Linked DNA regions of Homo sapiens: all the other regions are linked to region 2. The links are contacts of gene promoters, found by promoter capture Hi-C in blood cells and fetal thymus (Javierre and others, 2016). All regions are on one chromosome and are shown on one strand. The core of a region is centred on a gene start or on the middle of the fragment in contact, and the rest is flanking DNA. Distances in the headings are between cores, read along the strand shown.

Region 1 (2,700 bases), core at 194-2,693, 81 kb after region 2:
TTTCCCCTAGGAGACATTTGGCATTGTCTCGGGACATTTTTGAATGGCCATCACTGACATGTAGTGGGAGAAACCAAGGATGCTTTGAAACATCCTGCAATGCACAAGACAGCCTCAGCAACAAGGAATTCTATGGTCCAAAACGTCAATCATGCCAAAGTGACTGGGCATCATCATCTCCGGCATATTGATGATTAGACAACTGAGAGATCTATTCACAAAACTATTTCACAAAAATTATATATAGAGCTTCTTGGGGGGCATTTATTTTCTCCACCAAGGGATCCTCTGATATTCTGTCAGCAGATATTTTCTTAAAATTAAATTTATTTGAAAGTGTTTTGAGAGTGAGGTAGGGAAGGGAGCTGGCATTCTCAGAACCTGTCTTTAGTTGGATGCCTTCTCCTGCTTTCTGGGTGCCAGGTGTTCCAGAGTCTAGGGTCTCTCTGCTGCAGTGTCCTTTGAGAACAAGCACTGCAGTATGCTGTGGGGGTTAGGGAAGAGCAGTTGCTTGGCTGTGATGAGGGCATGGGGATCTGAGAGCTTAACTGCTCCTTATACAGATTATCAACTGATCACATACATTTCAGTCTATCTTCTAGGTTACCTGGAGCCTTCAATTTCTGTGAGCTTCTCTCTCCTCCCTCCTTCCCGTCTCACCTTCCCTCCATCTCTTCCTTCTTTCCTTCCTTCTTTTTCTCCCTTTCTTTCCCTCCCTCCCTCCCTTCCTTCCCTCCCTCCCTCCCCTCTTTCCTTCCTTCCTCCTTCCCTCCCTCCTTCCCTCCCTTCCCCTCTTCCTCCCTTCCCCCTTTCTCCTTTCCTCCCTTCCTCCCTTCCTTCCTTCCTTCCTTCCTTCCTTTTTTTCTTTCTTTCCTGAATAGGATTTCTTTTTTGGAAACCTTTCCTGAAGTCATGTTTTAAGCTTTCTCAGCTCTGGTAAATCAGTTACCATTCCTATATCAACTTTCAGTCTCAAAAAAACATGTTAATTTCTTCTTCATTGTCTCCTCTCCCATTCTCTTTACATTTTGAATTTAGACTTTTTACATTTATTTCACTATTGCTTTAGTGAATTTTTATTGAACCGTGTGACAATCAACCATATATTCAGCATGCCTTGTTAAAAGGTAGTTCAAATATGCCCTTAATCTTTTTGCGTGGCTTTAGAGTATCAGATAATTTTAAAAAATGATATAAAATAATGAAGTGATTCATACTCCAGAGATTCATCATCTCCTTTTCTGGGATAGGGCATCTGATGTACAAATAAGGGCAAATGACCAGGGGGCACAGATTGTCAGACCTGAAACAGCAGTGTTCACTGGAGAAGTTTCAGACTGTAGGGGTAGCAGGCACGTGGGCACCTTTGGCCTGTTTATTCTAGGCCAGCACAGAGTTCTAGCAAAGCCAGACTTCAGATTGCCTGAGAGGGGCTTTCACCTGCATAATTAGGGATGCTCCAGCCCCTCTCCTAGAGTGGTAAGAGGCCATGATACAATAGCACTATGACGTGATGGAATCTTGGCAGCAGCCCTAGCCCTTACCTAGAGAATGGCAAAGCTGCAGAAGAAACTGCCAATGGAGTGCTCAACTCCAGAAGCCTGAAACCTAGGTCGGCTTGGCAAGGTGCCTTGCGCCCCAGTGTCATGGCTGCGGTGGAGCCGCCCACTTCAAGGGGCCCTGCAGAATCAGACAGTGAGGATAGTGGCAGCAATCACAATGGGCTGAAGATTAAATAACTCTTGTTGACTTTTTCAAGTATTTATAAGCTCCCCAGATTCCCATGGAAGTCTACAGAAGGACATAATGAGAAAAGTAGGTTTAAAGGAAATAATGTGAAATTTCTTCCACACTTGAGTTGGTGAGTTAAACGCCACTTAGTCTATATGTGGTTTAAATGTTGTCCCATTGCCTCATTATGGCCTGATGTAAATTCATATGAAACTAGGATATTTAAAAGCTTATTGGGATAGCAAAATAGAGTTGATGTATTCACTGCAAAGATTATGGAGACCATTTATTGCTCTGAACATTTCAATATGTTGGCTTCTTGAGATTCCAACCCCAAGGGGACATGATAGTGATGAAGATGGAGAAATAGAAGTTTAAACAGCACAATTTGAAGAGGGGGCAAAAGTAACACTTTGATGAACCTAGACCATATAGACCAGTATAAGGTCAGCAAAGTCTGGAGGACCATGTGCTCTCTCCCTAGATTGGACCAGAAGCCCAGGCTCTACTTTTAGGAAATGGCTCAGAGAGCGCCCACTGAACTTGTCTCTGATGTCTTAGGCAGATCAAATGCTTCTCTGGTCTCTGCTTTCACAGATGGAGGATCAGGGGTGTGTGAGCACCACCCCGCTTGGTCTTGGAGACGGATCAAATCCAGACTGGTGAGTTCCGGGGGCTTGGGCAAAGTGTGGATAGAGTTTCTGAGGGTAGGATGATGAGGACATTTGGCTTGGGGGCTGAGAAGGAACATTTTTCCTGTAAAATTAAATCTTTACTAAGACTACTGCCATTAGGGGCAAGTACTGAAGAAGATCATGTGTTTCAAAGTAAGTAGCCTGACAAGATCTTGTTTGGGTTAAAAATACGTATTTATCTTATTTTCATTTTCAATATCTTATTTTACAGAGTTCTCTATTAAGAGATGCTATGAGTGGCTAGGCGTGGTGGCTCCTGCCGGTAATACCAGCA
Region 2 (2,700 bases), core at 178-2,677:
TACCTATGAAGAGATGTGCTATACTCCAAAGAGTTACTCAAAGTCTCTAATTTATACAGACAAAAATCTGGGAACATATGTCGGAATGGATAATAAAGGTGTTGGAAAATGATGGAAGGAACATAAAGTTGGATCAGGTCAAATTTATTGACATGGGCTCACTAAGCCAAGATTCTGCATTTAACATTGCAGCTTGGGGAGTTAGAAAGGGTGCTCACAGTTTGATTGGCTTACTAAAACATGGAAAAGATGAATTGGAAGTGCTGGACATGCCTTGGTTTAATCTAGAGGATGGGATTAAAAGGTTTAGGAATATTGGGAAATTAGATTTTTCACTTAAGAACTACTCATCTCGGGTGGATCATGAGGTCAGGAGATCGAGACCATCCTGGCTAACAAGGTGAAACCCCGTCTCTACTAAAAATACAAAAAATTAGCCGGGCGCGGTGGCGGGCGCCTGTAGTCCCAGCTACTCGGGAGGCTGAGGCAGGAGAATGGCGTGAACCCGGGAAGCGGAGCTTGCAGTGAGCAGAGATTGCGCCACTGCAGTCCGCAGTCCGGCCTGGGCGACAGAGCGAGACTCCGTCTCAAAAAAAAAAAAAAAAAAAGAACTACTCATCCACACTGGGAAGGTCAAGAAAGCATACCTTTCACCAATACTATGAGAAAGAAATTTGCGAGGAGAGCTCCAGCATCTTTTTCAGAACTCTGTGATGGCTCTTCTCTGTAGGCCAGAGCTCACTGCAGTCACTGAACTGGAAAACCTAAATATAATGGAAGTAAAGGATCCCAGGGTGGCAAGGGTCAAGTAATGGGACTCAACCACCAAAGGCAAGGTGAAGTGGTTATCATAATGACAGAGCCAAAGGAACAATTAGAATAATCTCACTTGTAGACCTATGCTTTGGCTAGTTGATCATGGTTTTCCTAGACGTGAAATAGATAGGAAGCCTACTGAAGTCTTAACTTGATCTGTATAAGCAGAAAACTTCTAAGTCAAGTGACGAAAGTTGAACTCGAATCATAAAAACAGAATCGTGGTCCCTTAATTCCCAAACTTGAGCCACTTTATAGAGCCCAAAACCCTTTGATTGAAGGGGAGGACCTCAAAGGGACCCTGGTCCATAACCAAATGTTTATACTGTTAGTCTTTCTCCTAGTCCTCCGCAAAGGGATGTACAACCTTTACCAACGTAACTGTGCATTAGAAAAAGGGAATAATCAGATCTTTTGTGAACTAGTGGACACTGGCTCTCTGAAGTGACACTAATTTCAGGAGATCCAAAGTGCTACTGTCAGGGTAGCAGCTTATGGAGGTCAGGTGATCAGCAGAGTTTTAGCTTAGTTCCATCTCACAATGGGCCCAGTGAATTCCTGAACCTATCCTGTGGTTATCCCCTAGTTCTAGAATGTATAATTAGAATACAGTCAGCAGCTGACAGAATAATCCACACATTGGTTTCCTTACCTATGGAGTGAGGGCTATTATGGTGGAAAAGGCCAAGTAGAAGCCACTAGAACTATCTGTACTTAGGAAAATAGTAAACCAAAAGCAATGCTCAATTCCTATAGGGACTGAAGAGATTAGTGCCACCATAAGTACTTGAAGGAAGGCGGGGTGGTGATTCCTACCATATGTCCATTCAACTCGCCTATTTAGCCTGGGCAGAAGACAGATGGATTATCACAAACTTAACTAGGTGGTGACTCCAATTGCAGCTACAGTACCAGATGTATTGCTTGAGCAAATTAACACAACTCCTGGTTCCTGGTATGCAGCTACCTGGTATGATCTGGCAAATGCCTTTCTCTCCATCCCTGTCTATAAGGCCGACCAGAAGCAGTTTGCTTTTAGCTAGCAAGGCTAGAAATGCACCTTCATGTCCTACCTCAGGGCATATCAACTCACCAGCCCTGTCCTAATTTTGTTCACAGGAATCTTGATTGCCTTTTCTTTCCACATCACATTGGTCCATTACATTGACGACATTATGCTCACTGGACCTAATGAGTGAGACATAGCAACTACTCCAGACCTATTGGTAAGACATTTGCATGTCAGAAGTGGGAAGTAAATCCAACAAAAATTCAAAGGCTTTTTCATGTCTCAGTAAAATTTCTAGGGGTCCAGTGGTATGAGGCATGTTGAGATACCCCTTCTAAGGTAAGTTTTTGCATCTGCCCCCTCCTACAACCAGAAGAGGCATGACATGCGGCAGGCCTCTTTGGATTTTGAAGACGTTTCCTCATTTGAGTTTGTTACTCTGGCCCATTTACTGAGTGACTTGAAAAGCTGCTAGTTTGGAGTAGGACTCAGAATAGGAAAGGTTCTGCAATAGGTCCAGGCTATTGTGTAAGCGGCTTTGTTGCTTGGGACATATGAACTTGCAGATCCAGTGGTATTTGAAGTGTCAGTGGCAGATAGAGATGCTGTTGGAACCTTTGGCAGGCCCACATAGATGAATCTCAGTGCAGACCCTTAGTATTTTGAAGAAAGACCTGTTATCCTATGCAGATAACTACTCTTTTGAGAAACAGCTCTGGGCCTACTGCTGGGCTTCAGTAGGGACTGAATGCTTACCGTGGTCAATTAAGTTACCATGCGACCTGAGCTGCCCATCATGAGCTGGGTGTTATCTGACCCACAAGCCATAATGCTGGGTGTGGACAGCAGGAGTACATCATCAAAGAACGTGTTAT
Region 3 (2,700 bases), core at 171-2,670, 71 kb before region 2:
CACCCGATCTCCATGTTCTCTGTCTGCCTGGTACCCCTGGGCCTGGTCTCCTGTTAATCAGCTGAAAGCACCATCTTACTCACTTCCCCCACAGGAAAGATTTTATTGGAATATAAAGTTACATAAGATCTGTGCTATTGTTTTGAAAAAGTCACCAAACTTCACCGTTAGATAACTTATTTTTATTCCAGACTCTAGCTATTACAGTATTATCTTATTTTAAGCTAACAGATACACCCAATTCAGGTATAACACTGGACACAGTTCAGGTGACAGAGCCAGCACCACCACTCAGATATTTTGGTGGCTTCTATTCTTTGAGCAGCGTGGTTTAGCACTTTTGGGCACTGGGAAATTACCCAAGGCCAGCACCTGCCAATTTCCTTTTTGAGTCACCTCATTCTGCGCGTGATGCTCAACTCTAGGGCTCACTAGATCTAAGGGCTTCCCCCGCGCCCCATCTCTCCGTTTCCCAAATTTGAACCTCAGGGGGCCTGGGGTGAGCAGCCCTGGCTCCTTAGCGGCTAGAGAACCGGTTCCGCATTGGAGCCGCAGCCACCGGCTTATCCCGGACCGGCCGCGGCGCTGCGGGTCTTTGATAGCGAAACGCCCGCAGGCAGCACCTCTGGAGGTGAGTGTGGGAAGAAAGCCCGACTGAGCCTGGGCTTTGACTTGTAAACAGAGGCTTTGAAAGAGCAAAGTTGTGAGTTTGTCTCCACTAAAGCAAACTTCCTCTGCTGTTTGCTTTGGGAGTTTTGCCGACGTATCTGCAGAACAAGAATGGATTTCCTGTCTGTTCCTGCAGCCTCCTCCAGCTACGTGCAGCTCAGCTGCCACCGCGAGGCTGCAGAGCGGGCATGGAGACGCGTCTGGGTCAGAGCCCACGATCCAAAGGGTTTTCCCCTCCCGCTCTCCTTCTTTAACCCTTTCTTTCTCCCAGCTTAGTCAGGCAGTGTATCTGCAACTTGCCAAACGAGTGATGGTTAGGAGGCTCCGAGGAGCACCAGCCTTAAAACCCACTGCTTCCAAAATAAAGCTAAGGAAAAGTCAGGGCGTGGTCGACCTCTGAACGCGTGCCCGGTATGGCGCTAAGCAGTGTACCCATATAGGACAGTGACTACCTCGCAGGCTGTTGTAAGATTAAATGAGGTTGTCCCCATTGAACCATCAGGATAAAAGATGACTGGACTCTCAAGTGTCCTTGGGGTTTAACCAAGGACAACCCCAGGCCAGCCCACTTTTAAAGACGAAGCTCTCCCAGGTGCTGAAAATCGAATGCCCGCAAGGCCAGGCAATTACTCTAAGTGCTACAGCAGGGAGGTCTAGATTTAGGATCATTTTTTTTTCTTGAGACATGTGGCTCTCCTACTATACCTTTCTATTTTTTTTTTTCCTTTGAGACGGGCATGGGTATTAAATTCTCATTTTCCTTTTTATTACAACGAAAAGAGTACAAACGTGGTTAAAAAGGGCACCTCCCTTAGTGTCAGGAAAACAAAAGGGAAGATCTGTGTGTGCAGTGACTGCATAAAGCCACAAAGGTGGCTCTGCCGATTGTCACCAGGGGCTGTTCAGGCTAGAAATACCATGCTGTCCGATGTTTCAAGAAAAGCAAGAAACCTAGATCTTTAATGAGAAGTCTTTGCATTTAAGCGTTGAAAACTAATTTTTTTTAAAATGGACAGGCCAATATAACATGGCAAACCAAATATTCCCATAGAAAAGATGCTAGTACTGCCTACTTTTGGGTGAAACCTCTGCATTATTCTGCCTTAGGAAGAGTGAGCTGGTTAGTTCTGAGTGAAGACCTCCAGAACCCAGAGAGACTGGGGGACATTAGGAACCCAGCAGGACCAAGCCCATCCGTGAAAGGAACACTTCAGAGTTTCTGTGACCGCGGAGTAAGTAAGGTCACACAAGGTATCCTCAGAGAAAGCTGGCTGTAGTCTCCCTACTTAATGGGCGTGGAGAAACATTAATCACAAAGATAATCCAATAGGAACAACAGGATGAGAATCATATCGAAAGGGTATTGGAGGGTTTGGGGGGGAAAGACGGGTTTATGTATTATCTCTGTGACATTTTCAATGAAATGCAAAATCAACAGAGCATCTTCTGCCAGGGTCACTGTGGTAATGAATGCTGACCTCAACTTGTTAGCACACCAATCCCTCAAAACAGCAAAAAAGAGAAAAAATCAACTGCCTTTGCTACCTTTATCAGCATAAACAAAGAGATAAAAATACGGTATAAAATTTTAACTGTCTTTCCCCATTCTACCTGCAAATGCGAAATTCCCCTGTGCTTCAATAAAGGAAAAATACATCCAATGAAGTCTAACAAATGTGCCATCTGTTCAGAAAGCAGCAGGCGAGCATCTTTTACACGTGACACCATTGCCCTCGTGTGGTCTAAAAGAATAGTGCAGCTGTTTCCCAAGGAGGCTTGAAAGGTTATGACTAAAAACTGTAGTTTTCATAAATATAAAACATTTACAACATTGAACAATATGTGAAAAAAACTTACACTTTAAAGAACACAAAAACTGGGCTTATTGTGTTGACTGTAAACATAAATTAAAAACAATAAAATAAAAATAAAGAGAATAAAGAACACAAATACCGCTTACAATAAAACCTCTGTTCAAATCAGATTCCGGTCTCTGGGTTTCATTCCACACTGAATTACCTTATAGCAAGG

The links. Contacts are between HindIII fragments. The CHiCAGO score rates a contact against its expected background, and 5 or more counts as called.
Region 1: a contact is called between a fragment that was not itself captured here and the fragment with the promoter of HMMR-AS1 in region 2, in 4 of 17 cell types (total CD8 T cells, non-activated CD4 T cells, total CD4 T cells and 1 more). The highest score is 7.3, in total CD8 T cells.
Region 3: a fragment that was not itself captured here is called in contact with the fragment with the promoter of HMMR-AS1 in region 2 in 2 of 17 cell types (non-activated CD4 T cells and activated CD4 T cells); the score reaches 6.0 in non-activated CD4 T cells.

What each region holds. Positions count from the first base shown.
Region 1 is chr5:163,412,012-163,414,711 of GRCh38, reverse strand. It overlaps LOC105377700 (a long non-coding RNA gene), which reads left to right and starts at 1,158. Exons shown (of 4, transcript XR_002956233.2): 1 at 1,158-2,393. The HindIII fragment of the contact is 1,038 bases long and covers 925-1,962 here.
Region 2 is chr5:163,492,785-163,495,484 of GRCh38, reverse strand. HMMR-AS1 (HMMR antisense RNA 1) reads left to right here and starts at 1,427. Exons shown (of 4, transcript NR_109892.1): 1 at 1,427-1,786; 2 at 1,936-2,042. The HindIII fragment of the contact is 5,178 bases long and covers 1-2,700 here.
Region 3 is chr5:163,564,209-163,566,908 of GRCh38, reverse strand. No RefSeq gene overlaps it. Among named protein-coding and RNA genes, the nearest start is that of MAT2B, 60 kb to the right of the region's middle. The HindIII fragment of the contact is 4,254 bases long and covers 1-2,700 here.